2 separate regions of the Homo sapiens genome follow, and region 2 is linked to region 1. Evidence: promoter capture Hi-C in 16 types of primary human blood cells and fetal thymus (Javierre and others, 2016). All regions are on one chromosome and are shown on one strand. The core of a region is centred on a gene start or on the middle of the fragment in contact, and the rest is flanking DNA. Distances in the headings are between cores, read along the strand shown.

Region 1 (6,289 bases), core at 1,148-3,647:
TCTGAATTAGGGAACACTGTTTCAATACTATTTATTTATTTATTTATTTTTGAGACAGAGTTTCACTCTTGTTGCCCAGGCTGGAGTGCAATGGTGCGATCTTGGCTCACTGTAACCTCCGCCTCCAGGGTTCAAGCGATTCTCCTGCCTCAGCCTCCAGAGTAACTGGGATTACAGGTATGCGCCACCACGCCCAACTAATTTTGTATTTTTAGTAGAGACGGGGTTTCTCCATGTTGGTCAAGCTGGTCTGGAACTCCCGGCCTCAGGTGATCTGCCTGCCTCGGCTTCCCAAAGTGCTGGGATTACAGGCGTGAGCCACCACGCTCGGCCTTCAATACTATTTTTAAACTTTCTTTCAACTTATTTTATCCAGGCCTGAAATAAGAGCAAGCAGACCCACACATTCTCTGGTGAACAGGTTTTGGAATCTATTTTGTCATTTTGTAGGATATGAAAGAACAAAAGAAGGGTCCAAGTTATATAATTCTTTTATTTTCTGTGTGAATGTTTTTAACCTTTGAGAATCTGGAACTCAAAATGTTCTTTATGTGAAGTGTACCAAGATTTTGAAACCTATCCAATAGTCCCATAGACAGTTTTTTAAAAAATAAACATAGAAATTGACCCTTCCGGTTTTAAAGCTTAAAATTTAGGTATCCCCCAGACATCTCAGAAAGTATCAAAGAACTTAAACTTACCAGATCACTACATATGAATTTTGGTGTACCACCACTCAGTCCACAGCAAACATTAAACCCTCATAATATCCTTTTAGATATATGTTTATATACGTGTGTGTACTATGTATAACTTTTCCATTTTTTTGCTTTGTTTTTTGTTTTAGAGACAGGGTCTGGCTCTGTTGCCCAGGGTGGAGTGCAATGGCACAATTAGAGCTCACCTAAGCCTCAAACTCCTCAAATGATCCTCCTGCTTCAGTCTCCCCAGTAGCTGGGACTATGGGTGTTGTACCACCATGCCTCGCTAATTTTTATTTTTTACAGAGCCAGGGTCTTGTTACGTTGCCCAGGCTGGTCTTGAACTCCTGGGTTCAAGGGATCCTCTTACTTTGGCCTCCCAAATTTCTGGGATTACAGGCATGAACAAACTGCACCAGGCCACTATGTATAATTTTAAAGGAAAATCGTACCAACTATTTTGTTTGGTAACTTCTATTTTTACTTGAAATATGACTATCTTTGGATGTGAATAGATGCCTTTCAGCAAGTCAATTGTACTTTTTTAGTGTAAGTACATTATTGCATTGGATGTTCAATACTACTAACCAATTTTCTCTCTCTTTTTGTTTGTTTGTTTGTTTGTTTTGAGACGGAGTGTCACTCTTGTTGCCCAGACTGGAGTGCAATGGCGCGATCTCGGCTCACTGCAACCTCCGCCTCCCGGGTTCAAGCAATTCTCGTGCCTCAGGCTCCGGAATTGCTGGGACTACAGGCGCGTGCCACCACACCCGGCTAATTTTTGTATTTTTAGTAGAGACGGGGTTTCACCATGTTGGCCAGGCTGGGCTCAAGTGGTCAAGTGGTCCGCCCTCCTCAGCCTCCTAAAGTGCTAGGATTACAGGCGTGAGCCACCAGTCCCGGCCACCAATTCTCTTTTGTTGATAATTGAGTTGATTTTTTTTTTTCTATTAAAGCTTTGAACATACATCTCTGTGCTCAGGATAAAGTCCTGGAAGTGGAACTGCTGGATCACAAAGGGTGCAAAAGTTTTTGAACAGCCAACAGCCTTCCAGAAAGGCTGTATCAATTATAAACAGCAGCGTATTTGTGTGTCCCTACTTCACCATACCCCTAGCAACTCTATGAATTATTATTATTGTTAATAATTTTTAGCTCATTTGGTAGGTGGGGAAAAAAAGACACCCTGGTGATTAAAACCAACAATTTGTGATATTTAAAATGTGGAACCGAGCTTTCAGCTGCCTCTGGCTCCCTGGAGGATCCGGGGTAAAGAAACATAAAATGGGTGGAGTTTGGCTCTGGTATTCTCAGTGGGATGGGATGGAGAGGGAAATTACAGCAAGCCGCTTATTCTCCCCTCGTCCGGAAAAGGGTGGGAAACGCCATCGTTAGGGCAAAGGAATTAAGAACATTATTTTATGAAAAGGGTAGTTGTTAGGGGGACGTTTTAAGGTTTTTAACTTTAGGCGGACAAGTCACTACAGATCAGCTGAAATTGCTTTCGGTCCTGACTACTCCTGTGCGGGGTTAAGACCTAAGGAAGCAAAAGGGCAGCCAGCAACAGCCGGACGGGAGGACCCCGGCGGCCGCCACGCAGTCCCACAATGCCCCGCTCGCACCACCCTGAGGGCGGAGAGAAAGGACCGCTGCCGGGGATAGGGCTTCCGCCGAGAGCGCCGAGAAGTGCGCACGCGCACTGACCCCGCGGGCCCTAGCAACCAGAGCAGTGACAGTAGCAACCGCCGGAATGGTGAGTACCTTTCGGGCCGCGTAGCCAAAGCTGAGAGAAGATTGGGAGTGGAAAAGGGTGACTGTGGAGTGTTGAGGGTCTGGGGGTCCTTGAACAGCGGAAGGGAGCCGGTAGCTGACGCTAGCTCTGTGGAGTCAGGGGCCCGAGGCGAAAGAGAAGCCCTGGCCGGGGGTGGTCTGTGGTGAGGGCGGCCTGGGGTGGATCGGAGGTTGGGTTAAGGTGGAGGGACTCAGACAGGAGAAAAGGGAGGGCGAAGAGCAGGAAATTCTCTAAAAAGAGCGTATTGGAGTGGGAAGGGTGATGGGAAGGAGAGTGTAGATAAAGATATCTCTTTACATAGAAGTAATTTTAGTGACCCCCCCGTCGAGATGCAGGGAGGGGCTGGTTACCAGAGGGTTCTGTATAACACGGATTGCAGCAGTTTTCGTAACCTGTGATGTACCCAGGTTGCCTTCTGAATGACTACGAGGGCAGTTATTAGGTGACACTGTAAAGCACACTCTGATGGATATATTAGAGCAGTGATTCTCAAATTTCAGTATGCATAGGTATGGGCTTGTTGGAATGCAGATTGTGAATTTTTAATATGATTGGGGGTTTCAGGAATGTGCATTTCGACAACACACCTCAAGTGATTATAAAATTGGAGGGCATCCCACCACACTGAGAAATGCTGTTGCCTTAGGTTTGAAATCTACCAGCTGTCTATCCAATGAGAGCTCTTTATGAAGTAATGGTTTTACCTAGAGATGCTCCTCAACTCTTACTTGATGTGTTCACTCTCTTGCTTACATACTTGGTAGTTCTAACTAGTCGTTTGAAAAGGATTGCAGACCCAGCCAGAGCTATTGAGCAAAGTATGTGATGTCCTACTGGATAGAGATGTTTATGAAGAAGAAGCATAATTACTTGTCTTCTTTTTGTGATTCCAGTGCTATATAAGTGGGCAGAAATTGAGCCCAGGAGATGGAAATGATGAGGAAGTCATGCCTGCCCTCAACAAGATGAAATACCACTCTTTAAAAAGTAGTTTCCCCCCTGCTTTCCTTACTTTGTTCCCCAAGCAGTTAGCTGAAAATCACTGCCAAGGAAAGTTAAAAGTTCTGGAACCTAGGTTTATATTCAGGTGAAGAAAGGCTCAGACCTAAATATTTATGAAAGTATGAACCATGGTGATTGTTGAAAATCTTCAAATAGAGAATCAGAACCAGTACAGTTATAAGTCACTTAATGATGACAGGGATACATTCTAACAAACACATTATTGGCAGTTTTGCCTTGCAAACATCATAGAATATGCTTACAAAAACCAGATGGTGTAGGCTATTGCTCCTAGGCTACAAAGTTTTACAGCATTTTACTATACTGAATACTGTAGGCAGTTGAAACAAGGTATTTGTGTATTTAAACATAGAAAAGCGGCCAGGGTGTGGTGGCTCACACCTGTAATCCCAGAGGCCTGTAATCCCAGCACTTTGTGAGGCCGAGGCGGGCAGATCACCTGAGGTCAGGAGTTCAAGATCCACCTGGCCAACATGGTGAAACTCCGCCTCTACTAAAAATACAAAGATTAGCGGGGCATGGTGGCGAGTGGCTGTAATCCCAGCTACTCAGGAGGCTGAGGCATGAGAATCTCTTGAACCTGGGAGGTGGAGGTTGCAGTGAGCTGAGATCGCACCACTGCACTCCAGCCTGAGCAACAGAGCAAGACCCTGTCTCAAATAAACAAACAAACAAACATAGAAAAGTTACAGTATTACAATCTTATGTAACCACTGTCTTATATGTGGTTGGTTGTTAACTGAAACTTGTTATGCAGCTCATGACTGTATTTAGAACTGGCTTAGTCTGCAAACTAGCAGACCTGGGTCCCTCCAGAAATATTGACCCACATAGTATTTCAATTTAAAAAAATTTATCTTTCAGTGTCTTTTTTTCCCCCTTATGACCTGCCACTTCAGGACAATGTCTTCAAATGATGATATTTCACATTAAAACCAAGATTTCCAATTTCTCTTGAAAAATAAATATTGGGGCAGGGCACGGTGGCTCACACCTTTAATTCCAGCACTTTGGTAGGCCGAGGTGGGCGGATCACGAGGTCAGAAGATCGAGACCATCCTGGCTATCATGGTGAAACCCCATCACTACTAAAAATAGAAAAAAAAAGAAATTAGCCAGGCGTGGTGGTAGGCGCCTATAGTCCTAGCTACTCGGGAGGCTGAGGCAGGAGAATGGCGTGAACCCGGGAGGCGGAGCTTGCAGTGAGCTGAGATTGAGCCACTGCACTCCAGCCTGGGCGACAGAGCAAGACTCTGTCTCAAAAAAAAAAAAAAAAAGAAAAAGAAAAAGAAAAAGAAATATGTTTCACCATTGGACACTTTTTTTCACATTTTCGTATTACTGAGATATAGTGTGTTATAACTGGCAGCATCTTTTCTTACTTAATGATACATAAAATAAAGGTGTTACTCAATGGAGTTTTTAAATTTGAAGAAGTATGGTGTATTAGGGTAGCTCTTTTCCCCAAGTCCCACCTGCTAACAGTTGTCTGGAGCTGAGTAGAGGTTATCTTCTTTACACTAGTCCTGTCCTTAGTTGGCCAGTTTTACTTATTAGTTAAGTCCATGAGGACCTTCAGGCATTTGAGTTTTTGACTCCTTCTATCCATAGGAAAACCAGTTAAACCTTATACAAATTTATATTGCTGCAATAAACAGCTAGATGGCTTCAACTCTTTTTCTACTAACAGTGTTGTGAAAATACTTTTTTATGGACCCATGCAAAAGATTTCTCTTGGAAACACACCCAGGAGTGGGATTGTACCGTCATAGGGTCTATGTATACTTAATTTGCCTAGGTACTTTTCAGGCTGCTTTCCAGAATGGCTTGACCAGTGTTTACTTCCTCCGGCAGTGCAGGAGAGTTCCATTTCTTCTTGTTTGTTCGTTTTGATACAGAGTCTCGTTCTGTCGCCCAAGCTGGAGTGCAGTGGCACAATCTCGGCTCACTGCAGCCTCTGCCCCTAGGGCTCAAGTGATTCTTCTGCTTCAGCCTCCCGAGTAGCTGGGATTACAGGCACTCACCACCACGCCCGGCTAATTTTTGTATTTTCAGTAGAGATGGAGTTTCCCTATGTTGGCCAGGCTGGTCTCAAACTCTTGACCTCAAGTGATCTGCCCACCCAGGCCTCCCAAAATGGTGGGATTGCAGGCGTGAGCCACCGCGCCTGGCCAAGAGTTCCCCTTTCTTTATGTGCTCACCAATTTTCTAACTTTTGCCAATCCGAGGGTGTGTTTTAGTATTCCATTGTTTTACTTTGCATTTTTCTGATTCTCGATGTGTTATAACACCTCATTTCATATATATATATATTTGTTGTTTGTTTGTTTTTGTTTTTTGGGGGGACAAGATCTTGCTCTGTTGCCTGGTCTGGAGTGCAGTGGCCCCATCAGGGCTCCTCCACCTCCCGGGATCCTCCCACCTCAGCCCCTGCGAGTAGTTGGGACTACAGGCCTGCACCACCACTCCTGGCTAATTTTTTTGTGTTTTTAGTAGAGAGAGGGTTCTCCATGTTGCCCAAGCTGGTCTTGAATTCCTGGACTCAGGCGATATGGCCACCTCGGCCTCCCAAAATGCTGGGATTACAAGCGTGAGCCACCATGCCCAGCCTTCTTGATATTCTTATTAGTCATCTGGGTTTCAGTTTCTGTGAATTTTCTGTTCATATTTTTACCAATTTTTCCATTTTTCTTTTTGTTTTCGAATTTTAGGCATTCCTTGTGTATTCTAAATATTGGTCCTCATTGGTTTCATGTTGAAAATATCTTCTCTC
Region 2 (6,289 bases), core at 1,447-3,946, 220 kb after region 1:
GTGGACTGTGTTTTTGTTTCTCTTGGGTATATACATAAGAGTAAAATTACTAGGTCATACAGTAAGTATATGTTTAACCTTTTGAGGAACTACCGAACTATTTTCCAAAGTGGCTTTACCATTTTCCAATCCCACCATCAGTGTGTGAAGGTTCCAGTTTTCCACATCCTCACTAACACTTGTTATTATCTGTCTTTTTGGTTATAGCCATTCTAGTTGGTGTAAAGTGATATCTCCTTGTGGTTTTCTTTTGTATTTCCTTATGGCTAATAATGTTGAGCATGTTTTTAATGTGCTTATTGGTCATTTGCATGTCTTTTTTGGAGACATGTCTATTCAGATTTCTTGTGCATTTTAAAAGTTGGATTATCTGTGTTTTTATTACTGAGTTGTAAGAGTTGTTTATATATTCTTGATATAAGCTTCTTGCTGGATGTATGATCTATAAATATTTTCTTCTATGCTGTAGGTTGTCTTTTTATTCTCTTGATAGTATCCATTGAAGCACAAAAGTTTTTAATTTTGATAAAGTCCGATTTATCTCTTTTTTTGTTTGTCACGTATACTTTCAATACTTTCAGACTCATATCTAAGAAGGCTTTGCCTCACTTAAGGTCATGAAGATTTAGTCGTATATTTTCTGCTAAGAGTTTTATAGTTTTGCTCTAACATTTAAGTCAGTAACACATTTTGGGTTAAACTCTATGTATGCGTATGAGGAAGGGGTCTGTATTAATCAAGATTCTTTAGAGAGACAGAAACACAAACACACACATAGGCATGCACCCACAGACATGCACACACATATATATGAGAGGGGACTTATAAGAGGAATTGGCTCACAAGATTATGGAAGCTGAGAGTTCCCATGATAGGCTGTCTACAAACTGGAGAACCAGAGAAGCTGGTAGCATGGCTCAATCCAAGCTGGAAGGCCCGACAACCAAGGAAGCCATTGGTATACTTGTCAGTCCCAAGGCCTGAGAGCCCAGGAAGCCATGGGTGCAGTCTCAGAGTACAAAGGCTGAAGAACCTGGAGTTCTTATGTCAGAGGGCAGGAGAAGAAGGGTGTCCTGCTTTGCAGGAGAGAGAGAGAATTTGTCCTTCACCTGCTTTTTTGTTCCATCTGGGCTCCTTGTTGAATGGATGGTGCCCACCCACATTGAGGGCAGATCTTCACCACATAGTCCACAGACTCACCTGCTAGTTACCTCTGAAAACACCCTCAAGGACATATCCAGAAACAATGCTTCACAAGCCATCTAGGCATTCCTCTATCCAGTCAAGTTGACGCCTAAAATTATCCATCACAGGGCCCAACTCATTCTTTTTTACAATCTCAAACTCCCTGGGCTCAAGTGATTCTCCTGTCTCAGACTCCCAAGTAACTGGGACGATAGGTGCAAGCCACCACACCTGACCTAACTTCACTCTTTTGCAAGTGAATATACAGTCGTGTCAGCACTTTTTTTTTTTTTAAGAGAGACCAGAAATATTTGACCACGAAGGGACATGAACCAGCACTGTTTGTTGAAAAGATAATTCTTTCCTCATTGGTTTGTCTTAGTACTCTTGTTGAAAACCAACTGACCATAAATATGAGGGTTTATTTCTGGACTTTCAACTCTATTCTAGCAATCTGTATATCTGTCATGCTAGTACCTCGCTCTCTTAATTACTGTAGCTTTGTAATAAGTTTTGAAATGAGCAAGTGTGAGTCTTCCAATCTGTTTTTCTTTTTTTTTTTTTGAGATGGAGTCTTGCTCTGTCGCCAGTCTGGAGTGCAGTGGCGCTATCTTGGCTCACTGCAACCTCCACTTCCCGGGTTCAAGTGGTTCCCCTGCCTCAGCCTCCTGAGTAGCTGGGACTACAGGCACCCACCACCACACCTGGCTAATATTTTGTATTTTTAGCAGAGACGGGGTTTCACCATATTGGCCAGGTGGGTCTTGAACTCCTGACCTTCAGGTGATCCACCCACCTCGGCCTCCGAAAGTGCTGGGATTACAGGCATGAGCTACTATGCCTGAACAATTTTTTGTATTTTAGTAGAGACAGGGTTTCACCATGTTGGCCAGGATGGTCTTGATCTCCTAACCTTGTGATCCTCCCGCCTCAGCCTCCCAAAGTGCTGGGATTACAGGTGTGAGCCACCCCACCTGGCCTGTTTTTCTTTTTTAAGATTGTTTTGGCTCTTCTGGGTCCCATGAATTTTCATATGAACTTTAGAACCAGCTTGTCAGTTTCTGCACAGAAGATTTTGATAGGGATTTTGATAGGGATTGCTTTGAGTCTGTAGATCAATTTGGGGAGTATTGTCTTCTGTGATGGTTCATTTTATGTGTCCACTTAACTAGGCCATGGGATGTCTAAATAGCTGGTTGAACGTTATTTCTGGGTGTGTCTGCAAGGGTGTTTCTAGAAGAGATTAGCTTTTGGATTGGTGGACTGAAAAAAGCAGATGTCCTTCTCTAATGTGGGTGGGCATCATCCAGTCCATTGAGGGCCTAAGGAGAACAAAATGTAGAAGAAGGTTGCTGGGTGCGGTGTCTCACACCTGTAATCCCAGCACTTTGGGAGGCTGAGGCGGGCAGATCACCTGAGGTCAGACGTTCAGGACCAGCCTGGCCAACGTGGTGAAACCCCGTCTCTACTAAGAATACAAAAATTAGCCGGGTGTGGTGGCAGGCACCTGTAATCCCAGCTACTCAGGAAGCTGAGGCAAGAGAATTGTTTGAACCCGGGAGGCGGAGATTGCAGTAAGCCAAGATCGCGGCATTGCACTCCAGCCTGTGTGACAGAGCAAGACTCTGTCTCAAAAAAAAAAAAAAAAAAAACAAAAAAACAAAAAAAAGAAGAAGAAGAAGGTTGAACTAACTCTGACTGCTTAAGCTGGAGCATCATTCTTCTCCTGTCCTCAGAGTTCCTGGTTCTCAGGCCTTCAGATCTGGACTAGAATCTCTACTGTCAGCTTACCTGCTCTCATTCACTGGAACCACACTGCTGGCTTTTCTGAGTCTTCAGCTTGCAGATGGCAGATAATGGGACTTCTTAGCCTCTCTAACTGCATGAGCCAATACCTTATAATAAATCTCTTCATAGATATGTATGTATCCTGTTGGTTCTGTTTCTCTGGAGAATTCTGATGAAAACAATATCCTAATACACTGATCCATGAATGCATGATGTCTTTCTACTTATTTGGGTGTTCATTAATTTCTTTCTGTCTTTAAAAAAAAAAGATTTTAGGGGAGGAAAAATGATGGAACAACTAGGATTATAATATAAATTGAATTAATGATCTTCACTTCGAACACTCCCAACTTCAAAGCAAAAACAAAAACCAAAAAACCTCTTTTTCCTCCAGGGAAGTAAATATTTTGTCTACTTACTCATTTCATGCTAGAAAGCACAGTCTTGAGAATTTTGCCTCTACCAGGTCCTGTGGATCCCACCTCCTAAATACCTCTCAATTCAGTCCATGTCTTAGTAATTCCAGGGAAGTCTACCTAGTCTGAATCACCGTTGTTTCTTTCCTAATGGGGTAGGTACCCTTGCATACACACTTTGCCCCTTTAAGCCATTTTTCACACTGCAGCCAGAATGCCAGAGTGATTCTTCTTATAACAGCAACTAATTGTGTCACCTTGCTTAAAGTGGTTTAATGGCTTCCCATTAGTTTTGGAATTGAGACCAATCAGCCTTGACATGGTCTAAGAAGCTACATAACCTGGGCTAGGCACGGTGGCTCACGCTTGTAATCCTAGCACTTTGGGAGGCCGAGGTGGGTGGATAACCTGAGGTCAGGAGTTTGACACCAGCCTGGCCAACATAGTGAAACCCCGTCTCTACTAAAAATACAAAAAAATTAGCCAGGCGTGGTGGCACATGCCTGTAGTCCCAGCTACTTGGGAGGCTGAGGCAGGAAAATCACTTGAGCCCGGGAGGCCGAGGTTGCAGTGAGCCGAGATCACGCCACTGCACTCCAGCCTGGGCAACAGAGCAAGACTCTGTCTCAAAAAAAAAAAGAAGCTACATAACCTGACTCCTTTACCTGTCCAGGCTCAGAGAAGCCTGCCAATTACCCTCACACTGTTGCCTCAGTGGATGTCTGTCTTTTGTAACACATCAGTGCCCCCTTCTGCTTAATCTTTGTATGAATCATGTTTTTAATTTAGTGTATTTTAGGATGTTTTGACATCTTAGGGGGCTTGTGAATCCTAGAGTAACTGTCCCTGGCAGGATTTGCTTATTTTTAGAGATAACAACTTGCATTTGAGTCTTGCCATTCATATACAAACCAACCAATCCAAAGCCCATATCCCTAAACTCCTCCTCTATCTAACTCACACTCCCCTGCCTTAAATCACCTCAGGGCCAGATGCTGCACAACTTAAGAACCACCCCTGTATATCAGAGCCCTCTGACATTATTAAAGCTGTCATGTAATATACTCAAGGTTACCTACCCTGCCTTGCCCGTTCTTTCCTGTGGAAACCAAAGATACTTCTTCCTTAAAAAAAAAAAAGAAGACTCTGGGCCATGCTCTTCCTTGCTCCTTTGCCCTCTTGACCAACTCTTGTGCTTCCCCATGCGACCCTTCTTGGCATATTGTGCCCTCCCCTCTCGGCAACTGTAAGAAATTCTTCTTTCAAGGCAGTTGTCTTCGTATCTATCATTTTACCATACCTGGTTAAAACAGAGTCCCAGGTACATATTAAAGCAAGCCTTCATACATGTTGGCCCTCTATCTAAAAGCCTCTTCCCACTCCTTTCCCTTTACCTGGTAATCCCTGTTATTCCCTAGATGCCTGCTTTAAAGAGATTTCCTTTGGTAAATCACCCTGAACCCTCAGACTAGTCCAGACCTCTCTTTGATATTTTCCTCTTGACATTCAGCATTTATCCCAATTGAAAGTAATAATTACATTTGTGTAGTTATTAGATTATCTGTCTTCCTTAGTAAAAAGTAAGCTTATGGGCTGGGTGCCATGGCTCATACTTATAATCCCAGCACACTGGGAGGCTGAGGCAGGAGGATCACTTGACCCCAGGAGTTTGAAACCATCCTGGGCAACACAGAAAGATGCCATCAATACCAAAAAAAGGAAATTAGGTGAGTGTTAAGGTGCACCAGCCACTCTGGAGGCTGAGGCGGGAGGATCACTTGAGCCCGGGAGGTGGGAGGATCACTTGAGCCCGGGAAGTGGGAGGATCACTTGAGCCCAGGAGGTCGAAGCTGTAGTGAGCTGTGATCATGCCACTGCACTCCAGCCTGGGCAACAGAGTGAGACCGTGCCTCAAAAAAAAAAAAAAAAGTTTATGAAAACAAAGTTCGTATTTATCACTGTATCTCCAGTGACTAGCATAATGTTTATTAAATGTTAATTGCATAAAGGAAGGAAGAAAAATCACTTTGGGATACTTTCACTAGACATTCTCTATGCCTCATTCCTTTAAAAAAAATAATCAGGCTGGGCGAGGTGGCTCATGCTGGTAATCCCAGCATTTTGGGAGGCTGAGGCGGGCGGATCACTTGAGGTCAGGAGTTTGAGACCAGCCTGGCCAACATGGTGAAACACCGTCTCTACGAAAACTACAAAAATTAGCCAGGCGTGGTGGCATGTGCCTGTTATCTCAGCTACTCAGGACGCTGAGGCAGGAGAATCGCTTGAGCCGGGGAGGCGGAGGTTGCATTGAGCTGAGATTGTGCCATTCCACTGCACTCCAGCTTGAGTGACAGAGACTCCGTCTCAGAGAGAAAAAAAAAAAAGAATCAGCTGGGCATGGTGGCTTGGGCCTGTAATTCCAGCTACTTGGGAGACTTGAGGTGGGAGGATGGCTTGAAGCCATGAGTTCAAGTCCAGCTTGGGCAGCAACGCAAGACCCCAACTCTAAAAAATAGAAAAATCTTAAGCAACCTTTTTTTTTTTTTTTTTTGAGATAGAGTCTTGCTCTGTGCAGTGGCACAATCTTGGCTTACTGCCACCTCTGCCTCCCGGGTTCAAGTGATTCTCCTGCCTCAGCCTTCTGAATAGCTGGGATTACAGATGCCTGCCACCACGCCCAGCTAATTTTTGTATTTTTTAGTAGAGATGGGGTTTCGCCATGTTGGCCAGGCTGGTCTCAAACTCCTGACCTCAGGTGATCTGCCCGCCTTGGCCTCCCAGAGTGCTGGGATTACAGACATGAGCCACCACACCAGACCTCTTAAGCAGCTTTAAAAGGGAAAAGGGAGTCTAACAAACATTAAATAATTGAGATTTTATATCATTCCAAATTCACAACT

What was found. The method cuts DNA at HindIII sites, captures the fragments that hold promoters and counts their contacts. A CHiCAGO score of 5 or more calls a contact.
Region 2: a fragment that was not itself captured here is called in contact with the fragment with the promoter of DNAL1 in region 1 in 6 of 17 cell types (M2 macrophages, M1 macrophages, erythroblasts and 3 more); the score reaches 10.2 in M2 macrophages.

The regions. Positions count from the first base shown.
Region 1 is chr14:73,642,589-73,648,877 of GRCh38, forward strand. It overlaps DNAL1 (dynein axonemal light chain 1), which reads left to right and starts at 2,398. Exons shown (of 8, transcript NM_031427.4): 1 at 2,398-2,454. The coding sequence starts at 2,452. RefSeq lists an enhancer at 5,461-5,630. The HindIII fragment of the contact is 7,204 bases long and covers 1,656-6,289 here.
Region 2 is chr14:73,864,272-73,870,560 of GRCh38, forward strand. The region is part of intron 3 of PTGR2 (prostaglandin reductase 2); the gene reads left to right. Among named protein-coding and RNA genes, the nearest start is that of PTGR2, 16 kb to the left of the region's middle. The HindIII fragment of the contact is 4,552 bases long and covers 421-4,972 here.